Linked DNA regions of Homo sapiens: region 1 is linked to region 2. The links are contacts of gene promoters, found by promoter capture Hi-C in human tissues and cell types (Jung and others, 2019). All regions are on one chromosome and are shown on one strand. Each heading gives the region's core, a stretch centred on a gene start or on the middle of the fragment in contact. The rest is flanking DNA. Distances are from core to core; before and after follow the strand shown.

Region 1 (5,368 bases), core at 1,145-3,644, 210 kb before region 2:
TCAGGGTTTTGAGACCAGCCTGGCCAACATGGAGAAACCCCGTCTCTACTACAAATACAAAAATTAGCCAGGCATGGTGGCACATGCCTTTAGTCCCAGCTACTCAGGAGGCTGAGACAGGAAAATCACTGGAACCTAGGAGGTGGAGGCTGCAGTGAGCCGAGATCACACCACTATACTCCAGCCCAGGCAACAGAGTGAGACTTCATTTCAAACAAAAAAAAAAGAAAGAAAAAGAAAGGATCCATGCAGTGAAATATAACCCTAGACCCTAACCCCCACAAGGCTGCAACCACCTGAGCCCACCCTGGTCACTTACACATTCATTCAGCTGGGACCCTACAACAAGCCAGGCCCTGCACTAGGTTTGGGGGACACCGAAGCGTTGGGGGACACCAAAGTGGACAGCATATTCCCGGCCCCACAGACCTCACAGTAGTAGGAGAGACAGGCCATTAAACAGATGTCATGATCACTCTTACCAGTCAAGACCTGGGCTCTGTGCTAAGCATTTTCAATATATTAATTTATTTAATCCTTACAACCTTGTGAGAAGGTACTATCTTTAGCCACATAACACAGATTGATAAAACTGAAGTTAAAAGAGTTTAAACACTTGGACAAGGTTGTCGAGCTTGTAAGTGAGGAGCTGAGATCCAGACCCATGGAGACTGACTCCGGAATGGAATGAGGGTTATGAGGATCAGGAAAGGCCTCTCTAAGGAAGTGAGGTTTAACCTGAGACATGGAAGAGGAGCACAAGTAGAACATCTCAACCCCATTCTTTCCTCCATATCACCCACCAGCCTCCAGCATTCTCCTCCAGGATTCTTGTGCCAACTTTGCCCATAGCTATGGCTCTTCGTGGGCCCTGCAGCTGCCATTCCCACTTATCTTGCTTCTTAGCCCTTCTACCCAGGGGTGTTTCCCTATCGCCCTTCTCCATTTCCCCCTTCATGCAAGCCTCTTACTCAGGACCCTGCCCCGCTCATTCTCTCGAGGGCATCTTGGAAATTCCCCTTTCCCCCTTGCCCAGAATAATTTCAGGCTTAGCCCAGAACCCCCAGTTTTCCCAGCACCAAATATTAATCACAGTTCAGGCTAAAACTGCCGTGCTCAAGTTCCTCCAGATTCCAGGCACGGTGGGGCACGGACATGACGAGAGAACTCTGGGACTTGTCAGCTTCTGACTACCCCAGAAAGGCAGGGCAAGAACAAGGCCTGTGGGAACTTGAAGAACCTGGACACCTCTTCCAAATTAAGGTGCAGACCAAACCCTTTCCCAAAGTGTGAGGAGTTTTCATTTCAGTGGGCGGCTTTCCTTCCAGCCTTCCCACAAAGGACATCCTGGGGGAAAGGGAGCTGTTGATCCCAGGGTGGCGGCATACCAGAGCACTCTGTCCCTGAACTCACTTCTCCCTTTTCTTAGCCCTGCTGTGCCTGGGGAAGCTTAGAAGCACCTGGCAGGTGGTGATCCCTGCATCCACCTGCTGCAGTGGAAGACAATAGGAGCGAAGCTAATGGTGCTAGAGCAGGGACTGAGCCTTTGCCAAGAGAAAAACACATGCAGACTCTGTTAGTCTTGAACACACTTTCTCTTCCAGAGGATTCCTCCCAGGGAACTCCCAGAGGAGGAGGAAGTGCCAACGTTGTCCAAGGTCCCTGTTAAAGAAAAACCCTAATGGGAGAGCAAAAAGAACCTTTGGCAAAGACAGCTCTACACCTGAAAGCCGCAAGCATCGTAACAATGATAATAGCAACAACAAATGCTTATATGGCGCCTACTATTTGTGAGACAGTGCTCCAAATGCTTTATGGACTTGAACTCATTTAATCTTATGTCCAGTAGAACCTGCTTCACTGTGGCTCTTTACAGGTGCCAGGTCCTGTTGCTAATCTGGTATTTCGATAGTATCATTTTAACTTCCAGAACCTGTCATCATCATATCACTCATTGATTCAACAGATTGAGCACCCACTGTATCTTACACACTATGCTATGGTCTGGGAATGCAAAATGACAACAATTTCATCCCCTGAAGAGCTGAGGATCTCATGGGAAAGACAGGCAAACAAAGAGGATAATCCATTACAGTGGTATAAGTGCTTTGAAAAGGGGAAATAAAGCATGCTGTGGAACACAGTAGAGAGACAGTAATGCAAACCAAGTTGTGTGGGGGCAGGGGATATCAGGGAAGGCTCCTAGGTAGAGGTGACACCTTGGCTGAGTCTTTGAGGATTCATGGAAAAGGACAGGCACACTGGATGGAGCCCTAGAGATGGTCAATGATGGCACATTGTGGGAAACACATGTTGGTCAATATGGGCAGTGTTTGAAAGCGGGGTGGGGAGGAGGCGGCAGGAAGCCATGAGAAAAGCTGACAAGACTCTCAGAGTTGTGCTAGAGGAACCTCATTGTGCCAGTCCACAGCTGTTCTTTAAGCTCAGCCAATGCCACAGTAAAGTAGAGGCCCACTGTTCTCACCCAGCCATGTCCACATTTCAAATTCATCAGCAAATAAATGATTGCTATTATTTGAAGCCGCTGTTGTGGGATGGTTTGCTTTTAGCAACAAATTATCAAACAACCACTTTAGAGGTGAGGGCAGCAAGGAGGGCTAAGTGGAAATGACAAGCATCAACACTGGTGCCAATATCTTGATCTTTCTGGCCCTTATGTTTGGTTAGAAGCAAACATTGTTTGGCTAACATCTGGAAGTCATTTATAACCAGCATATGATTCTAGATGGTGCTAGTAGGTCTTTAGGCTCCAAATATAGAACATATCCCTCAGAATCTGGAGATAAGAGTAGAAATGGGTTGGTATGCTGGTATCTTGAAGGTTACAGACTGGTAAACTGATGTCAACCTCAAGCGGGAGGGTTTCTGATAGCCGACCACAGGCCTTCATCCTTTCCCTTGTCTTAGCAATGATTTTTATCGATCACTCAGATGAAGTTTAGGGGGGCCATATTTATCAAAGTCAGTAAATACATGAAGCTTGGAAGGCGAGTGAGCATATGGAATGACAGGATGAGGATCCTAAAATATTTTGACAATCTGGAGCAATAAGCTTAATCCAACAAGACAAAATTTAGGAGGGATAAATATAAGACTCCATGGTTGAATATGAAAAGAATCCTTCACAAGTATAGAAGGAAAGGGGGATGGCCCAGTCACAGGAGATATGAGACCCACATAAGAACTTAGGCTTTGGGGTTAGATAGACATAGGTTTACATGTTAGGTATACCAGTTAGTAACTGCGACCCTTGGAAAATTATTCAAGCTTCTCTTAGTCTTTCCCTGCAAGAATTAGAGATAATTCATATAAAGGACCTGGCAGTTTCTGGCAAAAGTAAGTGCTCAATAAGCGGCCAGTGAAAGATCTAAGTTGCTTGTAATAGTGCTGAGTCTCTACATAGCCCAGGAAAAAGCTATCCAAAAGAACTTTCTCTAATGGCAGAAATGTTCTATAATCTGAACTCTCCAATATGTTGGCCTCTAGCCACAAATGGCTATTGAGTTCTTGGAATGTGCCTATTGCAACTAAGGACTGAGTTTTCCTTTTTTTTTTTTTAGACGGAGTCTTGCTCTGTCACCCAGGGTAGAGTTAGTGTCACATCTTGGCTCACTGCAACCTCCGCCTCCCAGGTTCAAGGGATTCTTCTGCCTCAGCCTCCCGAGTAGCTAGAACTACAGGCACACACCAACACACCCGGCTAATTTTTGTATTTTTAGTAGAGATGGGGTTTCACCATATTGGCCAGGCTGATCTGGAACTCCTGACCTCGTGATCTGCCCGCCTCAGCCTCCCAAAGTGCTGGGATTACAGGCGTGAGCTACTGTACCCAGCCCAGTTTTACATTTTAATTGTAATTAATTTAAATTTGGATGGCCACTTGTGGCTAGTAGGTTATTATATTGAACAGTGTGGGTTAAGATGATGTTAAGAAATGCTAAACTCTGAGACAGGAGGATTGCTTGAGCCCAGGAGTTTGAGGCCAGCCCAAGCAACACAGCAAGACCCATCCCTTAAAAGAAAAAATAAGCTGGGTGTGGTGGCTCACGCCTGTAATCCCAGCACTTTGGGAGGCCAAGGCAGGCAGATCACGAGGTCAGGAGTTCGAGACCAGCCTGGCCAACACAGTGAAACCCCATCTCTACTAAAAATACAAAAATTACCTGGGCGCTGTGGCAGGTGCCTGTAATCCCAGCTACTCAGGAGGCTGAGGCAGGAGAATCGCTTGAACCTGGGAGGCGGAGGTTGCAGTGAGCCAAGATCATGCCACTGCACTCCAGTCTGGGCGACAGAACTAGACTCTGCCTCAAAAAAAAAAAAAGAAAGAAAAAGAAAAAAGAAAGAAAGAAAGAAAGAAAATACAAACTCTAAACCTAAGTAAGATCTGGAGCAGAGAAACAATTTTCACTTTTCTTTATAAACTTCTAAATGGGCTGACTTTTTATTGTAACGAAAGTGTACAATTTGATAAGCTTTGGCATATCCAGACATCCATAAAACCATCACCTCAATTAAACTGTGAACATACTCAGTAGCCCCAGCAGTTTCTCCTGCTCTATTTTAATCCTTTTCTCCTACCCTCTCACCCACATCCCCACTCCAACCCTGCTCAGGCAAGCACTAATCTGCTTTCCGAAAGTATAGACTAATTTGGGTTTTCTAGTATATTATGTAAATAGAATCATACAGTATGTAGTCTTTTTTGTCTGGTTTCAACTGAACATAATTATCTTGAGATTTGTCCATGGTGTTGCATGTATGACCAATTAATTTCTTTCTAATGCTTAGTAGTAGCCATTATATGGCTATGCCGCAATTTGTTTGCCCATTCTCCTTCTGATGGACATTTGAGCTACTTCCAGTTTATCGGCCCAGAATATGGTCTGTCTTGGTAAAGATTCTGTTTGCACTCAAAAAGGATGAACATTCTAATATTGTTAGGTAGAGTGTTCTATATATGTTAATTAGGCCAACTTGGTTGACAGTGTTATTTAAGTCTACTATATCCTTGCTAACTCTGCCTCCTTATTCTATGGATTATTGAGAAATGGGTATTGAAATCTTCTACCATAATTGGCCGGGCGTGGTGGCTCACGCCTGCAATCCCAGCACTTTTGGAGGCTGAGGCAGGCAGATCACTTGAGGTCAGGAGTTTGAGACCAGCCTGGCCAACATGGTGAAACCCCATCTCTACTAAAAATACTACTATTAGCTGGTAGTGGTGGCACACGCCTGCAATCTTAGCTACTCAGGAGGCTGAGGCAGGAGAATCGCTTGAACCCAGAAGGCAGAGGTTGCAGTGAGACAAGATTGCACCATTGCACTCCAGCCTGGGCAAAAGAGAAAG
Region 2 (5,738 bases), core at 1,716-4,215:
TCTTTCTGAGGCTGTGAACACACTTGCTCATCTGAAAAGCCATCCAGATCCATCAAAGAATTCTCAAACCATTGGTCACATTTGAAATGTAGATGCCAATGATCCATATTTTCAGGGGATTTGCGTGTGGGCTTCAGTAGAAGGGAAGAGAAGGCTAGTGAAGGAGTAACTAGTAGGTAGCCATGGATGAATTATCAGTTTGGGTACCCTGTGGTCCTATAGACTTCAAGAGGACATAAATACCACTTGTTAGACTGTGAGTTCCTTGAGGGCAGAGTGCTTGTGTCGAATTTGTCTTAAAAATCACAGAGCCTGATTAGAAAGCTTCCAGTTAAGTTTCAATGAATTAAACTAAATTTTCTCCATTAGGACTCACTGGGAAGAGAAGAAAAAGGAAGTCTAAGGAAAATGGAATCTCTCATCTGGCCTACCCTTGCTTCCAAATACTTGGTACTCTTGTAAAGAATCCAATTTACAGCCAGTTGCTATCAAGTATAATTAGTGAAAACGATCCTTTTTCTCAGTAAATGGCAGCTTTCTTGGTATAGTTGCCCTGTGCCTTGCTGCAACTTGGCAGCTCAGACCCACCAGTGGGGAACAGTCTGGGAGCCCTGTGGGGTGGCTCTGGAGCTGCTGATGGAAGGCACAGGAATCAGGGCTTGCTGAACTTAAGGTTCAGGCTGCTTTCCCTGCAATAGGGTCAGCCAGCAGGGAGCAGGCAGGTCTGTGATGCAAGCAGAGAAGGTGGGATTGTGCCCACTGGGGAAGGGGGCTCTTGCTCTACCAAAGAGGAGGCTGGATGCCATGGTGCAGAATCCTCTGGGGTCTTGGCTCCTACTTGTCAACCACTAATTAATTTTTAGGTTTACAATTGATGTTTTCTTATCCAAGGACATCTGGTATACAAAAGTTCCCCTAGCTTAAAATGTTTAGTATTCTCTGAATAGCTTTCCTCTGTTCCCTAAGAAAGAGGCTTCCTCAGCAGCTGTGCTGCAAAAGACCCCAAATGTATTGCACATCCGAAGAGTGGCTAAGTGGGAGGTGAAGGGTGGGTACAGGGGTCTGTTGTAGGCACTGTCCTCCTCTGGGCTCCTTTGACATTGGCCTGGTGGCTGGGATACTTCAGAATAAAGGCCTAGTGGGTCACAGGTTTAGGAGGAGTTGGGGCTGGTCCCTAGGCCACTATAGGTGGTGGGCAAACATTGTAGAAGGCCTAATGTTTAGAAAGCCAGTGTGGAATTCTCCTTTGTGCAACTGCGTCACTGAATCAATTGGGATTTTTTATTGGTGAATGGACACTTGGAAGTTTTAATATGCAAAACATAATTTACTTTTATTACTTAAATTGCTTAATGTAATTTTAATATGCAAGACTTAATTTACGAAGAGCCAGGATTCCGGGTGTTTAAATCCTTGTCTCCAGGGAACACAGCTGTCCCTTTGAGGAAAACCTAATTTCTCTTCCCTGCCTGTGTGACTTTGGGACAAATCTGGGACAACAGTGAATTCTCTATTACTGTTATTACCACCCAAGTAAACTAAAAATCCGGGATGAGAAAAATCTTACAGAAAATTCTAGCTGAGGCTTCTAGCTTATAGTACAATGAATAGACCTTAATCATAGAATGCCTTTAAGAAAAACATTTAGGCCCGACTTGGTGGTTCACACCTGTCCTGTAATCCCACCACTTTGGGAGGCCGAGGCGGACAGATCTCTTGACCTCAGGAGTTTGAGACCAGCCTGGGCAACAAGGTGAGATCCTGTCTCTACAAAAAATACAAAAATTAGCCTGGTGTGGTGGTGCCCGCCTGTAGTCCCAGCTACTCGGGAGGCTGAAGCGGATGGATCGCTTGAGCCCGGGAGGTGGAGGCTGCATTGAGCTGAGATTGCGCCACTGCACTCCAGCCTGGGTGACACAGCGAGACCCTGTCTCCAAGTAAACAAAATAAAATAAAATAAAGAAAAATATTCAAAAAGCCCTCGAGGTTTTTTTGTTTGTTTGTTTGATTTTTTTGATACGGAGTCTTACTCTGTTGTCCAAGGTGGGGTGCAGTGGCACAATCTCGGCTCACGGCAACCTCTGCCTCCTGGGCTCAAGCGATCCTACCGCCTTAGCCTCCCCAGGCATGCGCCACCACACCCGGCTGAATTTTTCTTTTTTCTTTTCTTTTTTTTTTTTTTTTGAGACGGACTTTCACTCTTGTTGCCCAGGCTGGAGTGCAATTGTGCAATCTCGGCTCACCACAACCTCTGCCTCCCGGGTTCAAGCAATTCTCCTGCCTCAGCCTCCCGAGTAGCTGGGATTACAGGCATGCTCCACCATGCCCGGCTAATTTTGTATTTTTAGTACAGACAGGGTTTCTCCATGTTGATCAGGCTGGTCTCGAACTCCCGACCTCAGGTGATCCGCCCACCTCGGCCTCCCAATTCTTTTTCTTTCTTTCTTTCTTTCTTTTTTTTTTTTTTTTTTTTTTTTTTTATTTTGTATTTTTTATGGAGATGGGGTTTCGCCATGTTGCCCAGGCTGGTCTCGAACTTCTGGGCTTAAGCGGTCCGCCCGCCTCGGCCTCCCAAAGTCTGGGATAACAGGCTTGGGCCACCGCGCCCGGCCGAAGCCTGAACTGTTTATCAGTTCAATTATTTTTGCGGAATTGAACCGAACCGAATGGAATGGGAGCTTGCAGAGAGCTTCTACTCAAAGCAGTTCCTAAGGTTGATGGGGTGGAAGGAAATAAACAGAACAGCTATTGGCGTGGCCGAGTCGCTACGGACGGGGAACCCGAGCCGCTCGCGCAGGCGCAGAGCCAGGCCCGCGAGGGGATGGGAAGGTGGGGGGGAGGGGCGTTCCCTGGGCCCTGCCCCTCCCTGCCCTGCTTTAGTTCCAGGTACCGCCACTGGGGGCGGCCGCGGCCTCCCCAGCGGCAACGGCCACGAAGCTGCGCGGCCCTGGTTTCCAGCCGGGCCCTTTTCGCGGCCGGGCCCCAGCATGGCTGCCCCCACGGCTGAGGGCCTGGCAGCTGCTGCGCCCTCGCTTTCTTGACATTCCCTGGCTTCTGTGCTCTCTTCCCCAGGCCACCCCAGCAGACATGTTTGCCAAGGCCTTTCGGGTCAAGTCCAACACGGCCATCAAGGGGTCGGACAGGTGAGGGAGGAAAGGGGCCTGCTCTGCCACGGAACAACCAGACACCTCTTGGGCCCCGCTGGCCCATAGCCCTCGCTATTCTTGGCCGACATCCTCGGGTGGAGGCCGAGGGGTATGCCAGGGAAGGGACCCCAGGAGGCAAGGGTGGGTTAGACACATTTTGAGGTGAGGATGGAGGGGGACCTGGCTCTCTTTTGGATAGTCTAGTGAGTTTAAAAGAAAACGTAGTTAAGTCAGAGTTTACTGACTGCAGACTATTTAAGGTGTTGTGGAGAATGCAGAAGTGAAGGAATACAGAATTCTTGCCCTCCAAAGAGCTTAATGCCCCTTGGGAGAGATCGGATGGGATACCAAGAATTAAAAGTATAAGAGAAAAAAATGACTAGTGATTAATTCTGGCAGGAGAGACAGCTGGAAACTGAGGTGGGAGGGAATAAGGCACATGTGGTAAGAAGAACTGTATCTGTTCAGACAGGGTCACAAATGGAGATTGTGTTTGGAATTTTGTAACCAGTGCTTTATAGTTGTCTATAGGTCTCATGGCATAGTTATTTAATCATAAACTGGCATATTTGCGAAGCATGTATGAGAAAGGAGTGGGCCCAAGGGCTAGGCATGAAGTCAGGAAGGCAGGGCTGTTTCCTGTGTCAGGCTAACTTGGATTGTTCACTGGGCCTGTTTTCCCACCCATAAAATGGGAAGGCATACCCCAGGAATGAGTGAAAATAGATGACAATGGATGAAAAAGAGTTTAGGATGTTTCAGAAGAGTGTGTGTGAGACTAGGACATCATAAACCAGGCAATCTTTCTTTGGCCCTTGTGATTTTATAGTGAGCACTTTTGAGTTCGTTCTTGATATTTATTAAAAGTCTGTCCAGGCAGCATTCACAGTGCTGGTGTGCTTTCCACAGGAGAAAGCTTCGAGCTGATGTGACAACTGCTTTCCCCACCCTTGGAACTGATCAAGTCTCTGAGTTAGTACCTGGAAAGGAGGAGCTCAACATTGTGAAGTTGTATGCTCACAAAGGGGATGCAGTGACTGTGTACGTGAGTGGTGGTAACCCCATCCTCTTTGAACTGGAGAAAAATCTGTATCCAACAGGTATGACAACAGGACGAAGATGGCCATTACCATTAGGTAGTTCTTGCCTAACATCTGCTTCTCTCTGTTTCTTCCATTGTCTCCCATAAAATAAGCAAGCACGAAATCTCCCAATACCATCCCCAAGGATCTTTATGGACCTGGTGTTCCTAGAATTGGGTCTTTCAATTCTAGGATGCAAAAGGTTTTCTCTTATGCAAAACCACTATAGGAGGGATTAAAAAAAGGGCTGACATAGTAAGTAAGGGTGGTTGCAAAGGGAAGTTCTGAGATGAAGGAACAGTGGCTGAGAAGTTTACAGTGGGTTGACTAGGAATAGAGCAGAGGTCTTGAAAAGGATGGAATTTCAGGGCATGTCTTCATGAGACAGAGTCTTGCTCTGTTGCCCAGGCTGGAGTGCAGTGGCGCAATCTCAGCTCACTGCAAGCTCCGCCTCCTGGGTTCACACCATTCTCTTGCCTCAGCCTCCCGAGTAGCAGGAACTACAGGCACCCGCCACCACACCTTGCTAATTTTTTGCATTTTTTAGTAGAGACGGGATTTCACCATGTTAGCCAGGATGATCTTGATCTCCTGACCTCATGATCCGCCCGCCTCGGCCTCCCAAAGTGCTGGAATTACAGACGTGAGCCACCGCGCCTGGCCAAAAATATATATATTTTTTAGAGACAAGGTCTTACTCTGTCACCCAGGCTGAAGTGCAGTGGTGTGATCGTAGCTAACTGTAACCTCAACCTCCTGTGCTTAAGGGATCCTCCCACCTCAGCCTCCTGTGTAGCTGGGACTACAGGCATATGCCACCATGTCTGGCTACGTTTAAAATTTTTGGTAGAGACAAGGTCTCACTATGTTGCTCGGGCTGGTCTTGAACTCTTGAGCTCAAGTGATTTTCCTGCCTCAGTCTCCCGAAGTGTTGGGATTACAGGCATGAGCAGGGTGCCCAGCCTAAAAAATGTTTCTTAAAACTATCTGTAGCAGGATTTTCCTAAAATACTGAAAAGATATACTGTGATAGGAATAAAGCTGGATTGATAAGCTACATATCCAGCTGTTTTCATGGTGTACTTTAACCATAGGTCTCACAGGGATTTTTTAGGCTATGAGTGGCTCTCTAGGATTCTTTGCCTTCTCTGTCACAAATCTCAGGGACTCAGTCTCCTTTTCTCTTTTCCATAGCTGCTGACACCTACTTTGTAACTTGGGGCTTTTCATCCTCCAGGGTTGTCTGCAATAGTGCAATGCAATATCCTTAGGCCACTCCTGCCCCTGATCTCACTTCCTTGCTGTACCTGAAGACAACCACAATGCTTTTTGACCTAGGGGTTTTTGCTGCTAATCACTATGGAAACAGAGGGGATAAAAATGATAAACATGGGAAAGTTTCCAAATTTTATACAGCTGGCTTCCTGTTCTTAGGCTACTTGCTTCTGAAGCCGTAAATAAAAGCTTCATTGGTTCTCTGCCCTCACTTTTTTGTCCACTGTGACCATTT

What was found. Contacts are between HindIII fragments. The study calls those that stand out against the background at their distance.
Region 1: a fragment that was not itself captured here is called in contact with the fragment with the promoter of EIF2D in region 2 in 1 of the 25 tissues and cell types used here (aorta).

The regions. Positions count from the first base shown.
Region 1 is chr1:206,817,792-206,823,159 of GRCh38, reverse strand. The region is part of intron 2 of IL19 (interleukin 19); the gene reads right to left. Among named protein-coding and RNA genes, the nearest start is that of IL20, 45 kb to the left of the region's middle. The HindIII fragment of the contact is 5,457 bases long and covers 1-5,122 here.
Region 2 is chr1:206,609,692-206,615,429 of GRCh38, reverse strand. EIF2D (eukaryotic translation initiation factor 2D) reads left to right here and starts at 2,965. Exons shown (of 15, transcript NM_006893.3): 1 at 2,965-3,143; 2 at 4,056-4,246. The coding sequence starts at 3,088. RefSeq lists a silencer at 2,703-2,912 and enhancers at 3,203-3,272, 5,683-5,738. The HindIII fragment of the contact is 7,443 bases long and covers 1-4,877 here.